Regions from separate parts of the Homo sapiens genome. Here regions 1 and 3 are each linked to region 2. The links are contacts of gene promoters, found by promoter capture Hi-C in blood cells and fetal thymus (Javierre and others, 2016). All regions are on one chromosome and are shown on one strand. The core of a region is centred on a gene start or on the middle of the fragment in contact, and the rest is flanking DNA. Distances in the headings are between cores, read along the strand shown.

Evidence for each region. Contacts are between HindIII fragments. The CHiCAGO score rates a contact against its expected background, and 5 or more counts as called.
Region 1: a contact is called between a fragment that was not itself captured here and the fragment with the promoter of CCDC88A in region 2, in 1 of 17 cell types (monocytes). The highest score is 6.8, in monocytes.
Region 3: a contact is called between a fragment that was not itself captured here and the fragment with the promoter of CCDC88A in region 2, in 1 of 17 cell types (non-activated CD4 T cells). The highest score is 5.7, in non-activated CD4 T cells.

The regions. Positions count from the first base shown.
Region 1 is chr2:53,909,737-53,914,240 of GRCh38, forward strand. PSME4 (proteasome activator subunit 4) reads right to left here. Exons shown (of 47, transcript NM_014614.3): 21 at 339-394. Among named protein-coding and RNA genes, the nearest start is that of GPR75-ASB3, 52 kb to the left of the region's middle. The HindIII fragment of the contact is 2,420 bases long and covers 1,653-4,072 here.
Region 2 is chr2:55,416,597-55,421,144 of GRCh38, forward strand. It overlaps CCDC88A (coiled-coil domain containing 88A), which reads right to left and starts at 3,260. Exons shown (of 33, transcript NM_001365480.1): 1 at 2,421-3,260; 2 at 2,220-2,320. The coding sequence starts at 2,483. RefSeq lists silencers at 3,161-3,230, 3,261-3,310, 3,371-3,660. The HindIII fragment of the contact is 14,096 bases long and covers 1-4,548 here.
Region 3 is chr2:53,761,331-53,765,843 of GRCh38, forward strand. It overlaps ASB3 (ankyrin repeat and SOCS box containing 3), which reads right to left. Exons shown (of 10, transcript NM_016115.5): 2 at 4,047-4,255. The coding sequence starts at 4,242. It overlaps GPR75-ASB3 (GPR75-ASB3 readthrough), which reads right to left. Exons shown (of 10, transcript NM_001164165.2): 2 at 4,047-4,255. Among named protein-coding and RNA genes, the nearest start is that of CHAC2, 4.2 kb to the right of the region's middle. The HindIII fragment of the contact is 1,118 bases long and covers 1,365-2,482 here.

The DNA of each region.
Region 1 (4,504 bases), core at 1,613-4,112, 1.5 Mb before region 2:
AGATCACTTGATGTCAGGAGCTGGAGACCAGCCTGGCCACCACGGTGAAACTCTGTCTCTACTAAAAATATAAAACTTAGCTGGGCTTGGTGGTGCACACCTGTAATCCTAGCTATTTGGGAGGCTGGAGCAGGAGAATCGTTTGAATCTGGGAGGCAGGGAGGCAGGGGTTGCAGTGAGCAGAGATCGCGTCACCACACTCCAGCCTGGGAGACAGAGTGAGACTCTGTCTCAAAACAAAACAAAACAAAAACACTACTTCATACTTCATTTTAGTCCTTGTGGAGTTACTGACAAAAATAATCCACACAGATTTACTCAGATTAGGATTCACATACCATATTCAAGTCCAGTATACAACTTTGTCTCTTCCAAGGACACCATACTTGGTACTCTGTATAAAAACAAGAGTGCTTGCATTTATTAATAATACCAATATGAAGTATTAAAGGGAAAAGTTTCATTGCTGGACTGTTTAAACCAAAACAAAGATAATGTTCTTTTAACAGACACAGATTTCCCATCTTCAATGGGAAAAATCAATCTATCTTTCTCAAGATGAATGCTGTTTCAGTAAGAATCATGTTATTCAACTTAAAGAAAAAATTTAGTGACTTCAGGAGGCCTCCTAAAGGAACATAATATTGATATCCAATACTCAAATGTAAAAGATTAAATATGATAAACCTTTACATAAAGAAAAGTCAGCTTAATAATGGCACAACAGTTAAAACAAATTTTACTAAAGCATATAGAGCTGACAAGCTTATTTAGATAATCATTACCTTCCTCTTAAAATCAGTCAAAAACATCTCTCCTAATGTGCAGTAATAAGACACTCTTTTTGAAGAAATTCAGGTATAAAAATCACTGTTTCCTAATTAAAGATCTGCCATAAAGAATTATGATACCACAACCAGAGGCTACCCTGAGCCTATAAGCGGTAGCCCTGCTCCACAAGGCTACCACAACCAGACCCAGCCAGTTAAATTCATTGAACAGTTAAAAGTCACTTTTTACATATGCAAGGACAGATTTTATAGGAAAATGAGAATTGACATATCTGAAATCTACATTTTCTTTAGTGAAAAATATACCTCAATTTTCAATACTTTATTTCAAAATATGAGATTTAATTCAAAGCTTTTATTAATCAAAGAGATACATTCTAAAAGGAAAAAAAGGCACAAATCAGGCAAGCATATACAGAGTTAATAAACAGCAATCTTATTATTATTACTAATCACCAATGAACTGCACAAGACTTGCCATGAAGAAAATACTATTTTTAAATCAACACATCCCCAGCTATATTGTATACCCTCAAAAAGTAGCTGAATTAAATGGGTTATCTCTACCTTAATATTTGACAGTTATGAATTCAGGTATTTATCTAAGTAATAGGTAAAAACATATTTCTAAAATGTCAGTTATTTAACTATGTTTCTCACCATAACCCAGTACAGAGGATAGCAACAATACCTTCTCAAGTTTCAAAACCAAGCCCATAGAGTATAAACAAAGAATGGCTTCTTTTTCACTAACTTACTTCAAAGCTTATTAATATTGTATATTAATAGTATCAAACGTTAATTTGCTTTTTCAGACTTTCAAGACCAAATTCCTCTTAAAATTTTGTTTTCCTTCTATAAAGCTTCAACCACTGGCAAACCTGAGCATCTTAAATATTTTTGCATGATCAAAAATATGTATGTATCCAAAATCTGTTAGTAAAAAATAAAATCAGATTCCTTTACATGAACGTTATGTCTTTACTGAAATTAGATTTCACCAAAGAGAAAAGGCCTGTACTCAAGAGTAACAAGAATAAAGCACAAGAGAGTTCCCACCCTCCCCCCGCCCACTGTTAGAGCAGGGGAAGTGCTTGCTATGAGCCATCCTATTAGAGTATGTGTCTCCCCACTGCTGCCATAAACACTTAGTTTTCTGAAGTAGAAATATACAGTCTGCAGCTTATGCAGTCTGTATCTAATGCCATATAATATTAAATCAAGCATGAATTTTAATTACTGTCACTTTAGTTACTGTCATATTATACAAATTAAAAAAAGCATTCTTTATAACCAATTATTCTCCATAGTTTTTACTATATCTAAAAAGCCTGTCATTTGGGAATTTAAAGTTTTTCAAACAAGTTTCATCTAAGAGTCCTGACACCAAATTTCTTAAAATCCATGTGACACTTTGAATTGTTTTCTTATCAGGGAATTTGAAAAATAATCATTTATGCTGACTACTTTAAAAAATCCTGTATAAGATTGTAAAATATTAAGTAATGTATTTAAATAAAAGCCTTATCTTCTTCCTCGACTTTTAAAACTTGGATTAAAATACAGCTTCCATATCTCCTACACAGAGGTGACCCTTGAACAACACAGGTGTGGGTCTACTTACACGCAGATTTTTTTTTCAACTAAATGTATTAGCCAGATGAGAAATCTACACATATGGAGGGCTGACTTTTCCTGTATGTGAGCTCTACAGGGCCTACTGTGGCACTTGAGTATGAATGTATTTTGGTATGCTGTAGGTCCAATCCCCTAACTTCACCAAGGGAAGACTATATATAGGACATATCTGGGTAGTATACATTACAGCTTTTGTTTATTCTTATCCACCATAATTTGATCTCTTCTTGCCTACCACAAATTAACTGGATTAACATGATTTACAATAAATGCTTCTCAGCAAGTGTAGCTATTTATTTATTTATTTTTCAAGATAGGATCTCCCTCTGCCACCCAGGCTGCAGTGCAATGGTACGATCATGGCTCACTGCAGCCCCAACCTTCCTGGCTCAAGTGGACTCACATACACCTCAGGCTCTTGAGTAGCTGGTACTACAGGTGCACACCACCTCGCCAGCTAATTTTGTTTATTTACTTTTTGGTAGAGACAGGGTCTCGCTATGGTGCCCAAGCTGGTCTCAAATCCCTGGCCCCAAGCAATCCTCCTACCTCCACCTCCCAAAGCACTGGGATTACAGGCATGAGCCATAGTATCCTACCTCTTCTGACCTTTAGAAGATTTTTTACTAAAAGAAATCTCTACCCATTACCCAAGTAAAATATCATGACTGTATCTCTTTGTGACATTATAGATCTCATTGTGCCCAGGATGTAATCTGTGATATATTAAACTGTTCTGGTAGCTTTTAGCTATGCACATAATCTTAAGTGAATAGTCTTAAGGCACTGTCTTACAGATCTATATTCTGACTAAAAGCTATGTTAACAATATGTAAGTCAAATCAAATTCCATCACTACCTCTCCCTTCCTCATGTGAAATCCATCCTACTCATTCACTAGTTCATTTTACAAACCATAGTATCATTTAACCTAAGGAACAATACAATTCAAAAAAATAATTCCAGCACAACATACTGTAAATAACACCCTCTATGTAATAATAATAAAATTAAATCTGCTTCATAGCTTCTAGATAGTACCAGGCCACCTAACATATAGTAAAATGTATTAAAATATTTGTACCACTAAAAAAGGACCTATGAATTTTCAACAACTATAGTATTCGTACCACTAGATGGGAATCTTCTTTAGATATGATTAGAGCAGGACTATGAAAAGAATCACTGGTAGGAAAGAAGGGATGCTGAAAAAGAAATAACTAATAACACAAAAACAAAATATATAATACAAATCACATATGTAAATGAAGGCTGGGCGAATTGTCATGAAACAGCTGTAAACAATAATATAAAATTCTTCCTGTGTATAAGTGAAAGAACATCCTATCTTCCCAATAACCCTTCCCCTTCCAAATAAAAATAAACATAAAAGATGTAAAACCAAGCCACTAATAGATTTTTTCCCTTCAAAGTACAAATGTCTCACAAGAGACAGTTAGGCCTATTTTTGTGTTCTATTATCCAATTCAATCCTAGGTAGCAATAATAACTATAAACACAAATGAAAACCTGGCTCTTATCCTGCCAGTGAACAAAGGGTCACTAAATAAAGAGAAATCTTATATGTTGCTAGATTTTAAATTAACTCTGAAAACAGGAACTACTTCCAAGTCTGACACATAAGCTTTTAAAAATAAATGAAAACAGTCAGAAGGTGAAATAAGGAGAAAACAGGGTTACTCACCGTGGAGTAGTAACTGTTTCCTTTTCTGTGTGCAGCTCCCCCAGCAGAGCTGGGTAGTTTCCTGGAGGTGCCAAGAGAGGTTAGCTAGCCCTGCCCCTCATTGCATAAGCAACACATCCTTTCACATATCAATGAAATGGTCTCACTATTAGACCTTAAGTATGAATTTCTTTGAGCGAAAAGTTAGTAAAAGCTGAGATCCTAAGGATGATTTAACTAAAAATGACGTAATAAATCTATCAGAGGAAAGGGGACACAAAATAAAGGAATATTTTGAGATGAAAAATGACTCCTCTACCTTGAGTAACCCTGTTTTTTAGATGTTAGTTTTTTGCATCCTGTGATAGCTGGTTAGACCTAAAAGATTATT
Region 2 (4,548 bases), core at 2,010-4,509:
AAATATATAAATAGTTTCATTTACAAAGGGTTCTTGCTCACAAATTCTGTAACTAAATGTACTGTAGAAATTAGACTAGGCCTAACTTTTACATTTACTAGGTATAGAGTTACAACTGACACTTTATAATAGAGTACATTAAAGCATACATTAATCTAAGTAAAGTGCTTAACAGAAATCCTAATGACTTCAAAATTAGCAAAATACAGCTTATAAAACAATGTATATTTTGTTGCCCTATCAGTTAAATAATTTATTAAGATAAATTTGATCTTATTTTAGCAAATTATTCAAACAAAGCAAAAGTATACTTTTTTTTTCTTTTCTTTTCCTTTAATTTTATAGGTCATTTACAACAGAATTAGGACACCGAAAAAAAATCTAAAGAAACTGAGAGGTGGAACTGAAAATACAGAAGCAGATTTGTGGTTTGGAAAGGAGCTAGTCCTCATGAAAAACAGCAACCTGACAAACACTATTTTGGAATACCGTCATTTTCAAAATATACATATATTTTTTAAGCATAAAACTGCATTTGAAGTGGAAATTAACGTATTTGTTTTTAGCACCTCAGCTAAGTATTTAGGATGCAAAAAAAAAATCTAAATTTTTCTGGAAAAAGAATCATTCAAATAAAAACCATTAAAGTGGAAAACTAAAGTAATATATTTCCCTATTTTTGTGAACACACATTTTTAGCACACAAATTCAAAATCTTCCGTCTAAAAATAAGCACAATAAAGAGACACAGGGGAACAAATTCTGAGTATCTACTGTAATGGCTACCCTTTCTGTCATGTAGGTTCCCCAAAAGAGAAGTCAGTTTATTATCCTACCATTTTGCTTAGGAAATAGTCAGATATTTTGAGGATAAAAAATAATTCCATTACACAGCTGTCAAAAATACATTTACTAACCCTGGAAATAATTGATGTCTACGCTCTTTTTTCCTTTCTTAAGGAAAAAAATAAATATATACATATTTAGATAACATATATATTTCTTTGGGTGCCTATGAAAACAAAACACTGGTTGAAAATGTATAATAGTATAATACTTCCCTGTAGGATCAACATGTACATGAAAAACAGCCCACAAATCTCTTTGAGCACACAGAGAAGTTAACACGAGAGCAATTTTTTATAGATGTGACTTCTACCCTCTTAAACATAAAAATCTAAACCAATAAAATACAAAATTGATAAGGTTATCAGAGCAGAATGGTAGACTTATTCTCTAGTAACAACTATTTATTGATAACACACCAATTTCCCATACATATAAAAGTTCCAAACTACCTCTTCTCATCAGATTCTATTAAAGAGAAATAAGACTAAGTATACATTACTTTGAGCACAACTGAAAAATTCAGTTTGATAAACTACATTAGCGTACTTAGAATACACGTATGCTACAATAGCTGTAATTAGATAAAAGCTGAGTTTTAATTTTACTGATCCAGCTACCAATATACTTTCACTATTCAATTCCCATCTCAAAAGCATACTTTCCTACTTAGTACAAACCCAATATTATAAACACAAAAGACAAAGATTTGCCCAATAAGTCGTTATCTAATTGTTATCAAGACTTGTTATTTGCATTTCAAAACCTGTAAGAATACCTTAAAATGATCCCTAAAATATTAAGCAACCTAATAATTCACACAATAAATCATCTCATCAGGCTTTAGTTATTACAGGCATTTAAATTATTTACTACAGCAAGAGTCCTCACCAATCAGAACTGTTTGAAATTTTCTCTTCTGAAATCTGCTATTACTTAACGAGTTTCAAATTTTGAGCCATTTATTTCTAGATATAAAGGTTAATAAGAAACATTTCTGCATCAAATGCACATAACTTCACAGTAAAGTCTTTTTTCCTCTCTTAGGAAACCAGATTCTCATTTTCTCTCTTATTTTACCAAATTATCAAAGAATACACAATGTGGCTTGGATTTCAGTACTGAAGACAAGTGACAATACATGGTTGACAGAATGAAAAACTAAAGTTTCACAATTTTAACAGGTAAAATATCTAGGTTGTGATAATGGGCTGAGCCCATAACATTAGCATTCCTTTCAAGATCCAATTCTTAAACCACCTGAATATTTCTGGCCAATGAACCAAATTAGGGGCTTAAAACATCGTGTCTCAAAGTTCACCATATGCTATTTCTCAAAGAAAACGTTACCTAGGAAAGAAGGAAGAACTTACATTTGGAGCATGACCTGGTTCAAGAATACCCCATCCACCAAAGCCACATATTCATCAAGGTTGGTCCCATTTCCTGCGGCCAGAGGTCCAAACGTTTTAACCTAGAACAAACAGAAGGATCACCACGACATGAACGCCCACCTCCATCTCTGCAGCCACAAATAACTCAGCAAAATATACAATAAAGGACACCCCACTTACCCAAGTGACCAAAGGGCTGGTCATGAACTGCTCCAGAAGGGGAGTAAAAATTTCGTTCTCCATTTTACAGAGTATGTATTTGAAAAAAGGAACTACCACAAAAATACGCCTAGGGAATTGGTCACTAAACGTGGAAGTAAGTAGAAATCAATGAAAGTCCATTTCGGCAAGGGAGAAAAATCCCATCGTGGAGGAGGGGGGCACTCTCCCTCCTCAAAAAACACCCCAGAGTGAAACGAGCCGAAATCCCAAGAAGTGGCTTCGACGACGGACACCACGAGCAGCAGCCTGCGCTGGAAATGTCTGTACCGGGCGAGGAGGGGCAGAGAAAAGGCATCTGGAGGAGGAGGAAGGGAAAGGGGGCTGGAACCCAAGACAAAAAGCCCGTCAAGGTTGTCCAGCTCCTGGAGGATCCAGACCAGCGAAACTGCTCCCAATGAATCAATCCCAACGGGGGCTAAATGAAATACGTTAAACAGAGACCACGTTAAGGATACCGAGGCGCCACCAGACTCGACCTCGGCGTTCCGACCTCTACACGTTCCACCCACCGATGGGCATGGAGCCGCTTTCGACCCGCGGAGCCTCCACTGCCCGCAGCCCCTCAGTACCAACAGGCAGGGCTCGCCCCTTCCCCCCGAGCAGACACCATTCCTCCGCCGCCCTCAAGCCTCGCCTCCAGCCCCCTTCCCCTCCCGGGGGTGGGGGCTTGAATGTGTGTCCCTAACCCCCCAGCTTCCTAAGCCCTGCCAGCCTTTCAGCGCGTCTCTGGGAATCCCTGGCACAAAATCACCGCCGCGCTCCAGCCTTCTCCGCCCTCTATGGAGAAGCCGGAGTAACGGCCTCAGAACCGCAGTGCCGCATCACACCCCACCCCTCGCCGCCCGCCAGCGCCGCCCGCCAATGCCGGGGGCCGCCGTCAAAGGGAGCGCGCTGCTCCCTCCGCGCCGATATCCTTCCGCCGACTCCCCGCCCCTCCCGTGCAGCTGCCTCTGGATTGTGGGAGAAGAAAACCGCTGCATGAGCGCGCTCCCGAGCGAGCGCGCCCCCGGGCTAGCCTCGCCGCCGCCCAGATCCTGGCGGCGGGCGCGGGCTCGGGCGTGGGCGCGCGCTCGCTGCAGCTGCTGCGGAGACAACCCGCTCCTCGGTTGCGCCCAGGACGGTTGCCTGGTGGGCGGGGACAGGGAAGGCAGAGCAAGGGGTCTGTCTGCTCGCTCGCTCATGCCTAATTATGGTTTATTTCCTCCCCGAGTGACTTCTTTGATACGTGAAGGAAGGGGAAAGAAATCCTTCTCTTATAAACATGAGGGATGCAGACAGCCTTTTTCGGACAGTTTGATGTGTTCTGTAAAGCATGCCTTCTCCCCAGCAAAATGGAATAGGAAAACTCACTGCAGCAAATGGCAGAGGGACTTGAGCCACAACTTGGTGGGGGTTTTTTTCTCCTTTTTGTTTTCTTCCAAATGCAGTCCACTAACGCATGAATGTTCTTCAAAGTTGCAAGTGACATACAGTAAGATTTTTTAAAAACCAGAGCTGTCTGTCAGCACGTTGGTATTCCCTGACTGGAGCAAACATGACTCAGACATTGTTTTTTGGTTTTGTTTTGTTTTTTACTATTTGGGCATGGGTCGGGGGAAACCCAAGCAAAATCAAGAGCTACAAAGAAGAAACATTTAGAAGTCATCCAAGTTGGGTGACAAATAAACAGATTACATATTTGTCATAAATCTCCATGCCACGTACGACTGGGACCTTGAAATAATTTTAAGTTCCCTGGCAAAATCAAATGCTACTCCTCATTTCAAAGGAAAATAAAGACCTTTTTCCCGGGGTAAAATGGGCATATAGAACGCAATCTTTTTTTGATAAAAGATAATATTATAGTTTTATAATGTGTGCTATGTTTACATTACATAAATATTTACACGGAGTATATATTTTAAATTAGCAGTAAAAATGTTTTTGTCATAACACAGTTAAGAAAGAGCAGAATTTCTTAATTGGGTAGTTGAGAACCTGGACTCTGAAGTCTTCCTGCCTGGTTCCAATATGCACCAGCTGTGTGAGCCTACGCACGTTATTGAGTCTCTTTGTGCTTCGATTCCGTCACGTGTAAAGCAGGGCT
Region 3 (4,513 bases), core at 674-3,173, 1.7 Mb before region 2:
ATAAACTCAGGCATTCGAGCAGGGAGCAGCAACCCCCTTTGGGTCCCCTCCCGTTGTATGGGGGCTCTGTTTTCACTCTATTAATCCTGCAAATGAAAAAAAAAAGGCAGAAGGAGAATTCATTCTCTCTTGAACTAGGACATGCATCTTCTCCTGCCCTTGGATACTGGAGATCCTGATCCTCAGGCCTTCAAACTCCAGGACTCATACCAGTGGCCTCCCACACCCCAGTTCTCAGTCCTTTGGCCTCAGACTGAGAGTTACACTATCACTTCCCCTGGTTCTCAGGCCTTCAGACTTAGGGTGAGTTACACCACCAGCTTTCCTGGTTCTCCATCTTACAGAGAGCATATGATGGGACTTCTCAGCTCCCATAATTACATTAGCCAATTCCCATAGTAAATCCCCTCTTGTCTATCTATATATATTCTATTGGTTCTATTTCTCCAGGAAACTCTAACTTATCAAACAGTAATTGCACTTCTAAAACTCCATCCTACAGAAATGGTTAACCATGTAGACAAAGATATATACATAAGGATGTTCACTGAATCACTAGTTATAACAGCAAAACTTTAGGAAACAAACAAAATATCTATCAATAGAAGAATGGTTACATAAATTACATTACATCTCTACCATGAAATACTACACAAAAGTGTTTTCACTCAAGAGAGCAGAAGAGTGACTTGGTCTGTTGCATTTTAAAATGATCCCTCTAATATATTGAGGGTGGTCTGTCATAGGATGCAGAAGGAGCAATGGCAGATAGAGAAGATCTGTTAAGATGCTATTATAGCAACGCAGACAAGGTATTAATGGTAGTGAGAAGTGATCTAACTGTGTGTGTGTGTGTGTGTGTGTATACATACACACAAATATAGACATACACATACACAAATTTGCTGACTGACTAGATGAGAAATATGAGAAAAAGAAAGGAATTAATGATGGCCCAGAGTTTCTGGCCTGAGCTGGAACAATGGAATATTTCTATCTAACAGATGAAAAAACTAAACCACTTAGAGGTTAAAAAACCTGTCCAAAGTCACACCAATAAAATGGTAGAGTCACTAGAATTCAGGTCCATCTGACCGTAACTCTTAATCGCTGTGCTACAATGATTTATTTGTCTAAGGAACTTCTGCATCTGTTACTGTGCCCAGTATTAGTGCGTATTTTCTTATTTAACATGAACTAATAAAAAATACTATGAGCTAGATCATTTATTAGCCAAATAAAAGTATTTTTTAGCTATATGCTTAATAATTATAAGATTTTTAAGGGACTTTTAGTCAGCAAATGACTTATTATTGAATGGCATTAATTGTCAGTGAAGATCATTACTGCCCTCCAGGATGACAAGCTTCATAAAATCTCAACACCCATTACACCCAACCTCCAATACAGGAGAGAAGACAAGCAAATTTGTTATCTGTGCTAATATGTTAAACAGAAAACTAAAATGAGATACATAAGAAATACAAAAATATGTATGCATATTAAACTTCTATGTAATCTACACCACACTTGAATGCTCTTCTCCAACTTGAGTCAGAAGACCATGTATGGTACTCAGAATGGATTCCAAATCTAAATTGAAGAGACAGTGAAGCAAAACTCTTCTAATCATTTTAGATATTTCCATTTTATTTGTGTAGGCCTACATACCTTCTTATTTGGGTGCACTAATTATCTTTTAGGAATCTCTGACAGTGTATTAATATTAGATAAACCTCAGGGAGGTAGGAAAATTATATAATAAAAGACAGCAGGTGTGATGCATCACACCTGTAATCCCAGCACTTTGGGAAGCCAAGGCAGGAGGATCACTTGAGCCAAGGGTTTGAGACCAGCCTCGGCAACAAAGTGAGACAGTTAGCCAGGCATTGGTGGTGTGCACCTGTAGTCCCAGCTACTTGGGAGACTGAGGCAGGAGAACCGCTTGAATCTGGGAGGTGGAGGTGGTGGTGAGCTGAGGTCGCACCACTGCACTCCCACCTGGGCAACAGAGCAAGACTCTGTCTCAGAAAAAAAGGAAATACAGTCGGGCTTCTGTATCCACGGGTTTTGCACCTGCAGATTCAACCAACTGGGATGGAAGATAATAGCATTTGTAGGATGTGGAACCCACAGATACAGACGGCTGACCTTTTGTATGTGTGTATAGGACGTTTTCCTATCTTCAGGGCAGACTGCCGAACTTGAGGAGCATCCATGAATTTTGGTGTCCGTGGACATTTTGGGACCAATTCCCTGTGGATATGGCAGGACAACTGTAGAGATGAATTTAACAGCCAGTTCAAATGCCTTTAGTCAAAAGCATGCCCAAGTTTACTCAGCAGATGAAAAAAATCTGTAACATAAACTACACTATTCCGATATGAAGAAGAGATGTAACAGTATATTGGAAATGAGCTTTTTGCCTAGAAAAGGATATTCAAACTCATGTCTTTGTTACTAAAAATAGTTTGGGAACTCAAGCTTTATAGTTAACTTCAAACAGATTCTGAAAACATATCTTAAGCGTTTGAAATTAGAGGAATAACATCTATTTTTCCACTATCTTCAAACACTCAACTATAATAGACACTAGACACTTGAACATGTGATTTTAAAAACAATCATGACAAATTTCCTGCATTATGATTTAGGAAGTTTAGCCTTACCATCTCTTACCTGTTAAGACAAAAAAAAGAAAAAAACAAAACAACAACAACAAAAAAAACACCTACCACTACCAAAAACAATGTAAAGATTATTTCCTTTCCCGTCCAGCAGGTAACAAATTAGTAGTTCTGATGGGCTATGGACCCAGAAGTTTATATTTTAAGGACCTATACCTGGTGATGACAAGTATGCAGGAAAGAGGGTCTGAATTTCCACGATCAATGAAATGAAATTGGTTCTGAGTGTTACAATGCAGAGTATTATAGTCAACCTCATTTTAACTGAATGCTATAAATTCATTCAATTAAATGTTAGAAGCTTGGTATGAGAGGAAAAAAAAGGGCTTTAGAGTCAGAGAAATGGGTTCAAATCAAATACCCTAGTTTATTATGTAACCTTTTACAAGTCAACTTCTCTGAGCCTTGGTCTTTTCACCAATAAAATGAGGATAATACTGCCTCTAACACCATTTTTATAAATATTAGATAAAGAAGATAAATTGAGCATGTGGCACAATGACTATCACAAAGCAATGCTCAGTCACCATTTGTTTTCTTCCTACCCCCTCTATACTAAATGTCAGAATCTCGCCTTTAGTCAATGACCTTCACTCAGTAGTGTGCTGGTTAACATTTAATAACTAGCTGTCCAGAGGGAAGAAAGCCCAGTTTATAGCACTGGTTTGTAGCACTGGCTTGTTTCTGTGGTGTAAATACTCCTACCATGGCCGATCCCAAGCATGAAGTCACTGAATGCAGAGATGTAAAGAGATGTGCAGTAGCACACCATTTTTGTCTATCCCATCTGTTTTATTATCTCTACTTTGTTTTATTTTCTTCATAACACTTTTACCTTTTTAAATTATCTTGTTTAATTATTTAGATATTTGTCATCTGTTTCCTCTGACAAGAAAAAGCATCAGGAAGGCAGGCATCTTGTTTCATGCTAAGTAGTTGTAAAAATTCCCAAAAGTATTAAAAAGTGTTTAAAAAGAAAAAGACTAATTCAATCAAAACACATCCTCAATTTCAGTACAATTGCTCTTTCTGTTTGGTAAAGGAAGAAAGAATAAACATGACCAGTAACTACCAAATGCTTAAATTCAAACAGCAGACTACTTCTCCCATATCACCTAGCTCAGTCAATAAAAAGAGGCCAGACAGAGGCACTTCCGTATAAGATGTCCAACTAGAGTATCATACTAATTGAATCCAAGGCAGGCAATCTTACTATCCTTAATAAATAAATTCAGGCAGTTATTTTATGACTATAGAAAGGGAAACAAATACTACTGTTAATAAGTTATGTATTATACTTTTTTATGTTTTATTAATCCAGCTTGTAGGCAAAGCCTCCATACCTTGAATTTACTTTACCTGCATTAATTAACATTTGCAAACATTCTACAGAGTTGTGATAAGCTGCTTCATGAATTGGCATCCATCCCCTGTTATCAGCAACATCGACACTTCGGCCCTTTTTGAGCAGTTTCCTTAAGACTTTAACATTGCCTTCCCTGGCAGCAAGTCCAACTGTAGAGCACGTGTCCGCGTAAGCCTCTGTAAAATCCATTTGTTTGACCAGTCTACAAAACAAGGTAGAAGGATAATACTATAGTCAATAAAACAACACTTCACTCCTAGAGGTCAGCAAATCACGGTGGGCCTGTCTAGTATCTCTCACATGACTGACGAAGAAGGGCCCACAATACAGAAAGTGACTGCCATGCCACAGTCTCTGCTGGTGCCTAAAGCAGGAAGTTTCTCTGTTTGGCAGATTGGAATTCCTTGGAAGGTTCCCACTAAAAACATGAAGGGACTTTTAAGTGTTCTATCTTTCCTCC